Regions from separate parts of the Homo sapiens genome. Here region 1 is linked to region 2. The links are contacts of gene promoters, found by promoter capture Hi-C in human tissues and cell types (Jung and others, 2019). All regions are on one chromosome and are shown on one strand. The core of a region is centred on a gene start or on the middle of the fragment in contact, and the rest is flanking DNA. Distances in the headings are between cores, read along the strand shown.

Region 1 (5,326 bases), core at 2,460-4,959, 370 kb before region 2:
ATGATTTCAGTTACACATCCAACTTTTGTTTTTTTAAGATGGCTAACCAGTTGCCTCAGCATCATATATGGAGCAGCCCACCTTTTCATCAGTCTGAGATGCCACTTTTATCATATAATAAAGGCCTCATATATACTTAGGTCTATTTCTGAAACTTTCTTTTAAACAAAAGAGCCTTCTGGTATCATGGCTGTTTTTTAAACTTTTGATTGATTGTGTACCTACCTTTGTATACCTACCTTTGTGTACCTGTGAACGTGGCCTTGTCCGTGTGGTTAGCAAGGAGCATGTGTTCCATTCCTCCTCTGGCTGCCCTTCAACACCATCCACTGCTCACAATGCTGCCAGGGAAGCCTGGGCACCTCCAGAGGTGCCAACCTGACCATGCCAAGGCTGCCAACTCCAGGTGCTTCTAAGGTTTTCAGTCCTTGGGCACCAGGAGGCTGCCAGGTTTCCTGCCAGCTGAGGAGAGCAGCCTATTCAACTATTCAACCTATGCAACTCCAGGTCCTGCTATTTCTGTTTTTCTTGGCCCTGATTGCACTTCAGTTTTCGCCCTGTCTTCTGGAATGGCTCCTTCAAATTCCCCTTTTCATCACATCAGTTTTCACAGGTAGTTGAAGAGATCTGCTTGGAGAGAGATACCATTTGTTTCCCTATTTTCCTTTGCCTCCTCTCTGACTCCTTCCACCACCCCTGCCCCCTGCCCAGCCCCACCATTCTTTTCTCTCCCGCCTGGGCCTCTTCACAGTTACCAACCAAAAACTTTCACTTATAGCAACAGAAACAGAACTGTGCCAATCTGTGTGGCCTTGGTGGGGGAAGGGAGATTGTTTGGCTGCAGCAGCCAGCAAAGTTAGTGTTCCATATGGCTCCTTTTTTTGTTTCTGTTTTTTTTTTGGGGGGGGGCGGAATTTCGCTCTTGTTCCCCAGGCTGGAGTGCAATGGCATGATCTCGGCTCACCACAACCTTCGCCTCCTGAGTTCAAGCGATTCTCCTGCCTCAGCCTCCCTAGTAGCTGGGATTACAGGCATGTGCCACCACGCCTGGCTAATTTTGTATTTTTAGTAGAGACGAGGTTTCTCCATGTTGGTCAGGCTGGTCTCGAACTCCCGACCTCATGTGATCTGCCTGCCTCGGCCTCCCAAAGTGCTGGGATTACAGGCATGAGCCACTGCACCTGGCTGTTTTTTTGTTTTTTTGATACACAGTCTCACTTTGCCATCCTGGCTGGAATGCAGTGAAGAGATCACGGCTCACTGCAGCCTTGACCTCCCAGGCTCAAGCAATCCTCCTGCCTCATCCTCCCAAGTAGCTGGGACCACAGGCGCGCATCACCACAACTGGCTAATTTTTTTTGAGACGAAGTCTTGCTCTGTCACCCAGGCTGGAGTGCAGTGACACAATCTCAGCTCACTGCAACCTCTGCCTCTCGGGTTCAAGCGATTCTCTTGCCTCAACCTCCCAAGTAGCTGGCACTACAGGTGTGCGTGTCCAGGTAATTTTTGTGTTTTTAGTAGAGACAGGGTTTCACCATGTTGGCCAGGCTAGTCTTGAACTCCTGACCTCAAGTGATCCACCTGCCTTGGCCTTCCAAAATTCTGGGATTACAAGTGTGAGCCACCACGCCCAGCCACCTGGCTAATTTTTGTTAATTTTTTTTTTTTTTTTGGTAGAGATGAGGTCTACCTATGTTGCCATGGGTGGTCTCAAACTCCTCCTCAAGCGATCCTCCCCCCTCGGCCTCCCAAAGTGCTGGGATTGCAGGCATGAGCCATTGCGCCAAGCCCATATGCCCCTTTAAAAAAAAGATATTTAGTAGAAATGGAGCATCTTGCTACAGTCTTGCTGCTCACAGTGTGGTCCCCAAACCAGCACCATTGATATCATCTGGGGGTGGGTTAGAAGTGCAGAATCACTGGCTCCAGACCTATTGCGTCAGAACCTGCATGTTAACAAGGTTCCCCCAGAATGCACATGCACATCAGAGTTTGGGAAGCATTCTGCTCTGGGACTTGATGACTGAAGGAGGGAGGCTGAGGGAGAGAGAAGAAGCAAATATGTTTTTTGAGACCTCAATTCTCACTACCAATATCTGAAACTTGGGGACCACATGGATTTGGATAACAAGTGATACAGTTATAACTCCAGATGTCTACGCTGGTGGCTGAGTGGGTCTTAGAACACTTTCTGGGGTTATAAAATACAGAATCAGCAAGTTGAGGCAGAAAGGCCTGAAGGGAGATGGCAAATCCGTGTGAGCAAGGCTAAGTCTAAAGACCCATGGGCCAGGGGTGCTTACTGAGAACAGAGTACGTGGCACCATTAGGGGCAGAGGATGGAAGCAAGCACATATGAAACTAGGCATGGTGGCATGCTCCTGTAGTCCCAGCTACTCAGGAGGCTGAGGTGGAGGGTCACTTGAGCTGGGGAGGTCGAGGTTGTGAGCCATGGTCATGCCACTGCCCTCCACCACGGGCCACAGAGCGAGACTTGAAAAAAAAAAGAAAGAGAGAGAGAGGGAGAGAGAGAGAGAGAGAGAGAGGGAGAGAGAGAGAGAGGGAGAGAGAGAAAGAAAGAAAAAAAGAAAGAAAAAGAAAAAGAGAAAAAGAAAGAGAAAGAGAGAAAGAGTTGAAAATCTTGGAGGCCTTTGAAAACATAGAGAGACTGGACTTCTGTTTCTATGATCAGGGTGAGGTATACAGGTGGTCCCCAGTAGCCATGGACTGGGAGAGATGACACGGAGATACTACTTTGTGTAAGAGAAGAGTACATGTTTCAGAATCACAGGAACACCAATGTGTAATGAGCAGGCAGGCCGAGAGAAATGACAACGTATGTCCTTATAAAGACTTAGAGGCAAATGTTTAGAGCAGAATTATTCGAATAGCTTTGAACTGAAAACTACTCAAACGTCCATCAGTGGGTGAACGGATAAACAAAATGTGATATTCAGGAATAAAAACATAATGGTACAACATAATGGCACATGTCACAATGGGGATGAACCTCAGAAACATTATGCTCAGAGAAAGACATCAGTCAGACACAAAAGACCACATACTGTGTAATTCCTTTCATATGAAATGCCAGGAACGGGAACTCTAGACATAAAGTAGATCAGTGGTTAACTCAAGATGAGGGTGGGAGTGGGCAATGACTGTGTAGGGGAGGCAAAACTTTATCTCCTTAGGGTCCTTGCTGGGCCTGAGACTCAAACTGACATAGATTAGCAGGAGGAAAGCTATCATAAAAGCTGTCAATGTAAGTTTTACATGACACGGGAGCCCTCACAAGGAAATGAAAACCCAAGGCCACGATCATATATGTGCATTTGTTCTGGTTATTTTCTGCCTCCCCTTCCACTTGCCATTCTTCTCTCCCCTGCTCTTTTGTACTGCATAGAGCTGCATAAGGGTCGTGAGCCAAACAGCACTCCCTCTTGCTGCAGCTGGTCACAGGGCTGCCCCTGCTACTCATCCTGTGCCTCATGGGCAACATGTTATGCCCATGTCCAAGGTACAGAGAAGTGGACCCAGAGCCAGGGAGAGGTGATAGGGACCTTTGGGCGGGGTGGGAGGTGCTTATTGAGAACAGAGTCCATGTCACCATTAGGGAGAGAGCATGGAAGCAAGCACGTTTGACAATCCTGTGTCTGCCCTGTTTCTGGAGAGGCAGATGCAGACAGCAGGTCAGAGGGAATTTGACTGGACAGGAACTTGGGGGGTTGAGGGTAGCCATTGCATATAACCAAACCTGTTACACATTTCTTTGATATCTGATGTCATTGTGACATGATCTAGAAACCTCTGTCAAAATAGTTCCTAATGATACTAAACAACAACTGAGACTGTTTATTGAGTTTGTGAAATCAAGGAGTGGCTGCTCTTCTAGAAGCAGTGAGTTGATGTCTGTTCTAACATTGTTCTGAGACAAGGAAACCTTTTTATACTTTAATAGCCAGGGTCAGAATTTCTCAGATTGTATATTTGCATGTAGCACAGGAGATGCTCTTTTAATAAAAATCCAGAAATTTGTTGTGCACATTATTCAATAGAGAACAATATCAAATTAAACCAACAACAATGACACTTAACATTTGCCCAAAGCTTGGTAAATGTTGATGGTCACTGTGTACCTTCAGATAGCTGTGTACTCTAACAGAGAGAATGATTTCAAAATCAGTTGAAGAGAAAACGCCTCTGCCTGCCTGTACCTGTATATTACTGTCAATGTCAATCAGGAATGTGTGGGTTCATTCCAGTTATTTTCCGGCTCCCAATCTACTTGCCATTCTTTCATCTCCTGCTCTTTTGTACTGCATAGAGCTACAGAAAGTTAGTGAGTCAAACGACAGCCCCTCTTGGTGCATTTGGTCACAAGGCTGCCCCTGGTACTCAACCAGTGCCTCCTGTCCTCTCCCCTCCAAATCCCCCCTCCTTCTCAGCTATCAACTCTGTTAATCCTGGTGGTTTCCCTGGCTACCGTGACCCAAACTCTCATTCCTGAAAAGTCTAAACCCCTCAAGGCCACATCTTTCTCAAGTCAGGGTTCCTGCACTTGTCCATTCATGTCACAGGTGGACCTGGGAGTAACACGTGGCACCCAAACAGATCACCAGAGTTCACATATATTCCACCTGCCCTCCCTGCATAAGAGCACTACTCCCTCTTCCTGATGATGGTTCAGGGCCATTAATCCCTGCCAAGATGGTGACTGCTCCTGCCTGCTAGTTCAACCTGTCCAGCCACAGCTGTAGCTTGAAGGCTTGAAGTTCAATGGGACCCACTTCTGCTTCCACGCTTTCTTTCCTTTAATTTTAATTTTTATTTATTTGAGACAGGGTCTGGCTCTGTCACCAAGGCTGGAGTGCAGTGGTGCAATCACGGCTCACTGGAGCATCCACCTCCCAGACTCAACTGATCCTCCTGCCTCAGCCTCTGAAATAGCTGTTGTACAGATATTCGTCACCCTGAACAGGGCTTCACTACCTTGCCTAGGCTGTTTCTTTTGTGCTTTGTTTGTTCGTTCGTTTGTTTCGAGATGGGGCTCTGGCTTTGCCGCCTAGGCTGGAGTGTAATGGCGTGATCTCACCTCACTGTGGCCTCCTGGGCTCAAGCCATCCTCCCACCTGGGCCTCCCAAAGTGCTGGGATTACAGGCATGAGCCACAGTGCCCGGACTGAAGATATCCTTTAGAGAAAGAAGCAGCGGGTAGTTTTGCCAAGGCCAGACAAGATTTCTGGAGTTTGGAAAGGGTGAGAGATTGGGTCAGCAAAAGACACATTCTGATCTTTATGCTGGGATGCAATTTATAGATACAGGG
Region 2 (4,854 bases), core at 772-3,271:
ATACTCCCTGGGCAGGCAGAGATTGGGCTCCGAGGCCTGGCCTGATCCCCTGCACACACCTTGACCATGTCTCCTATGGTGGACTTAGATGGGTGGGAGCTTTTTAAATAGCTGGTCGTCGTGTGAGTACCAGTCCACCCCCAAAGGTTTCATGGGGATAGTTCCAATGTGACAAGAAAGAATGAAAAATAGTCTTAAGACCAAACCAGAGAGGGGACAGAGAAGGCCACCCCCCACCCCCACTCTGAAGAGCAAGCACAGCAGGGGAGATGTGGCCACTGCCATCGTCTGGGGCTGCTTTCTGGTCTGTGGGCTGGTTTGCATCCTCACCTCTGCAGGGCTGGAATGTGTGTGTGGTCAGGGGGGCATTTGCCCAGGGAAGGGGGCATTTTGCGGCTTTTCGAGAATAGCGCCCCTAGGCCAGGCACTTCCTCTGCAGATCATGACTTTGTTTTGAGCATGTGGCTTCCTCAGGGGCTGTGGCCTCTCGTGGGAGTCCAGCAAGGTGGACATTTTGTGTTTGGGTTCCTTACAGCCCTTCAGGCAGTCGCTGGAGCCCAGCTGACCTTGCCTAGAAGGGGAGCTGTGGGGGGAGGCGCCCTTGTCCTCCATTTTGAAGACGGAGGGTCCTGGCTGGCCTCCCATGCAGTTGCCCTTTTTAGCACCCCATAGTCCCAACAGGTTGTGAGGCGGGGAGGGCTGGGGTCCAGGAGCCTGGGCAGTGGACTTCTCTGCCACCTGGATAATGGCCAGAGGACAGGGAAGCTCTTAGTCTGAAGTGTCATTTCAGACGCCCCCATGGCCTCAGGATTCCTGCCAATTATAGAGCCAGATGCACACTGTCACCTGGGCTTCTCTGTGCAGGCCTGACCAGGAACCCAGGGTTCCTCTTCCTTCTCCCTCCCCTGGAATGAGGCAAGGTTGGGACTGGGGTGGCTGCTGAGGACAGATGTCCCTACTCCTGCACAGAGGATGCTGCTCTCCCCTCCAGGGCCTGGACTCAGCTGCACCCATGTCAGGGGCTAAAACTGTGCCGAAAACTCCCATTCCTTCAAGTGCCAGCTCCCTGGGCAGGCCGTGGGCAATGCACACTGCAGGGGTGCCTCTCTGGCCTTCCTCCCCACTGCTTTGTGGAGATCTGTCCCCCACACCCCCCCACACACCAGGGCTATCTTGCAGTTGGATCAAACCAGGTTCACACCTCAGCTCTTCTCACTACCAAGTTACTGAGTGCCTGGAACCTGTTTCTTCCCCTTCGAGCTGGGGGTTCACCTCCTGGGGATTCCATGATGTGGGTCTGTGTGGTGGGGACAGCCACCACCAGCATAGAGTGTCCGGTGCCCCACAGGTGCTGTTCTGTGGATGGGAGGCTCCCTTACCTTGTTCCCTTCCCAGTGGTACCAGCAGCTGGACGTGGCTCCTATATTCCCAGGAGGAGATTCTTTGAAACCTTTTCTTTTCTGAGCCCCTGAGCCTGTTCTGATGCCCTGATGCCATACCCTCACCACCCCAGCGTCCTCCCTGCCCTGGGCTCTCACCAGCGTCTGTTGCCTCATGCCTCTGCACCTGAATTTGAAGGCTGCACCAGCGAGCCATTCTTCCCCCACCTCCAGGCAAGACTGTTCCTCGACCAGTGCTGGCAGAGGCCAGCAATCTTCACTGGGTCTACCCCAGTCTTCCAAGCCTCCCAAAGAGAAGTTTCTAAAACCTCCCCAGGATCTTTTACTAAGAATTCTCTCCTCCACCCCATACCTTTGGTCTCAAAGGGGTGGTGGGGAGGCCGCCCTCCGTTCTCCGCCCGGTTCATGGTCTTGTTGTTCTCCAGCTCCGGTGGAGGCTCGGGGTACTCTCCGAGCTCGGGGATGATTTCCGTGGCATCATTCTTGAACGCCTGCCACCCCTGGCCCTCCACTACACGGAAGGCTGTGTGTACCAGCAGGCAGACGAGACACAGGGCCAGTGGGAGCTGCATGGTACCAGCCAGAGGAGGGCACGCCACCTTCCAGTAGCACAGGCTCTGGTCTCCAGCCGAGACACGGTCGCCTTTTTAAAGCCCCTCTCTGCTTCATGCCAGCCAATGAGGACAGGCTGGGGCAGGGCTGGTCCCATGTTTCCCTCAGCCCCGGAGGGAGGGAAAGGGGTGTGCTCAGAGCAAACCCTCCCCAAAGACTTCTCCTCTAGCTCAGCAAACTTCCAAATTGCTGCTGGCACTCCCAGGTGACCCAGAGAGAGGGGGCGTGTGAGGCAAGGCCCAAGCCTGCTCTCCGGCACCTCCCACGTGCTGGCGGCTGTGGTTTTCAGATATCAAAATGAGCTCCGGCTTTTAATTGTCTGTCTCCCTGGGCCCTCGGGCATTCTCAAAACAAACTGTGGACCCGCTCAACAAAGAAAATGTGCAGTTCTGAGTGCTTCGCGGGGCTGAGCCCGGCCTATTCCATTTCTCAGGCCAAGTTCATTTGTCACCCCACCAACAAATGGCCCAAGGCGTTTCTGTTTGACCCCCATAGACCCAGCCAGAGGCAAAAAGATGCTTTTAAAGAAATCCCATTGGTCCCAACTCCACAAGTCTCAGCATTCATTGTCCTAACCAAGAAAGCCTCTCTTGGTATTCTCTGGAAGGCAAGAGAGAGAACTAGAGGGTCAGAGCAAGGGTGCCCGCTTGGGAGAGAGGGCAGGATTCTGGTTACAAATCGAGGATGCGCTGGTCACTCAGGCTCCTGTGGTGGACAGCACAGAGGAAATCCCAGCTCATGCTCCTCAGGGATCCTGTGCACTGTGACAGGCACTTCTGAGCCAGGGCACTCACTGTGGCTCGCAGGGTGATGTGCTGAAGACAGTCATTTCCCCAACCAGTCTGTGTGTGTGAGAAGACAACACCAAATTCCTTTCCTTAGCAAAAGCCACAGCCAGCGTTTTTAGTGCTGACATTTTATTTTCTTGTCTTCCAGCTGGTTACATTTTTCAAAAACAGTTTTGAGTCCTGTATGGAAAGCTTCATTGGTGCACACCACAGGATGTGTTCCATGAAGCCATCCCAGGACCAAGTGGTCACAAAGAAGCTAAGAGAAAATGCTGCCTTGGCCCTGCATATAATGAGCCACACAGGGCCGGGGCGGGGGGCGGGGGGGCAGGTAGAGGCGTGGGGGAGAAGGATTCACACCTGAGGTGCAAGAAGAGAAAGGAAGGCCAGAGGAATCTTTCATTGAAGACAGATTGTTTGAGGACAAGCAGCTCCTGTGAAGAGGCTGCCCAGATCCTCTGGTATTTTAACTGGGCAATGAATCAGCATGCCCCACCTGCAGAGCCTCTGCAAGTCCTTTGCCACCTGCCTCAACTTGCAAGTCGCTGTGTCCATCTGCAGCCGACTGTCCTCCTTTCCATCATCCATCATCCGACACATGAATGCAGCTGCTCTGACAGTTTTACAAGCCAGACAGAAGCCCCCTCAGGAAGGGCCCTCTCTGATACCTGCTTCCTAAGTCAGTTTCCTTCAGGGCAGATGAAAACAGCTGTGGCCATTGTTGGGGGTGATCTATCTCTCCCAGCAGAGCCGGTAGTGTTGTGAGAAGCTGGCCCTCCGCGCCACCTCCCCTTGTCTATGACCCTCCAGCCTCCTTTTCCCTTGCTCTGGAATGTGGACTGTTAACCCTCTCATGACCAGACGACTGCCTTCTTGCAATGGACTTGGGAGAGAGCAGTTCTGATGCCTGGGTTCCTTGAGCAGGTAGGATGGATGCTTATAGCCCCACCTGCTGTTGGGAGCGGCTGGACCGTCTGCATTAAACAGAGGCAGTGGGATTCATCCCTGGAACGCGTCTGCCACCTGCTGGAGACAAAAGGAGGGGTGACTGCAGGATGGCAAGTCTCAGGACTGGACGTGATTTCCTTTCCTTTCCTTTCCTTATTTGGAAGTGAAGTAATATTAAAAGGAAAAAGAAGAATCCAGTGGACTTGAACCTCTAAATGATCCACACCCCTCTGAATGGCTCAGCGAGAACCTGCTGTGACATCTTCTGCTGTTTCATTTAATGTTAAGTCATTGACAGCTGTTTATTTTTACTCAGTCCACAAACTTGTCATTGTTCACAGTACTCCCTGGAATTAAACCCCCAGGGTTTTAGCTGATTCCTATTGTGAGTAGTTTAGGTTATTTCCAATTTTTTTTCCTATTTCCAGCAGGGTTGCTATGAACATCCTTGTACGGCTGAAATTTTTTTTTTTTTCTTTTTTTGGCAGATTCTCTCTGTGGCCCAGGCTGCAGTGCAGTGGCACAATCTTGGCTCACTGCAACCTCCACCTCCTGGGTTCAAGCAATTCTCCTGCCTCAGCCTCCCGAGTAGCTGGGATTACAGGAATGCACCACCACGCCCGGCCAATTTTGTATTTTTAGTAGAGACGGGGGTTTCTCCATGTTACTCAGGCTGGTCTCGAACTTCTGACCTCGGGTGATCTGCCCAACTCGGCCTCCCAAGGTGCTGGGGATTAGAGGCATGAGCCACAATGCCCGGCCTCAGAGTAATTTTTTAAATTAAAATTTTAAAATGTGGATATAATTATAAATTTAAATATACTTATAAGAAATAAAAGCCTGGGCAACATGGTGAGGCCTAGTCTCTACAAAAAATTTAAAAATTAGCTGGGCATGGGGTCGCACGCCTGTGGTCTTAGCTACTTGGGAGGCTGAGGTGGGAGGTTCACTTGAGGTTGAGGTCGAGGCTGCAGTGAGCCATACTTGGGCCACTGCACTCCAGCCTGGATGACAGAGTGAGACCCCGTCTCAAAAAATAAAAATAAAAAAAAGAAAATGCAGACTCCGTGTATCCTTTATCCAGTTTCCCACAACAATAACACCTT

The links. Contacts are between HindIII fragments. The study calls those that stand out against the background at their distance.
Region 1: a contact is called between a fragment that was not itself captured here and the fragment with the promoter of SOST in region 2, in 2 of the 25 tissues and cell types used here (H1 embryonic stem cells and dorsolateral prefrontal cortex).

What each region holds. Positions count from the first base shown.
Region 1 is chr17:43,381,034-43,386,359 of GRCh38, forward strand. LINC00910 (long intergenic non-protein coding RNA 910) reads right to left here. Exons shown (of 6, transcript NR_027412.1): 2 at 240-627. It overlaps LOC124904007 (a long non-coding RNA gene), which reads left to right. Exons shown (of 2, transcript XR_007065762.1): 2 at 39-135. Among named protein-coding and RNA genes, the nearest start is that of LINC00910, 5.2 kb to the right of the region's middle. The HindIII fragment of the contact is 7,633 bases long and covers 1-5,326 here.
Region 2 is chr17:43,756,770-43,761,623 of GRCh38, forward strand. SOST (sclerostin) reads right to left here and starts at 2,022. Exons shown (of 2, transcript NM_025237.3): 1 at 1,753-2,022. The coding sequence starts at 1,972. RefSeq lists a silencer at 3,672-3,966. The HindIII fragment of the contact is 9,966 bases long and covers 1-4,854 here.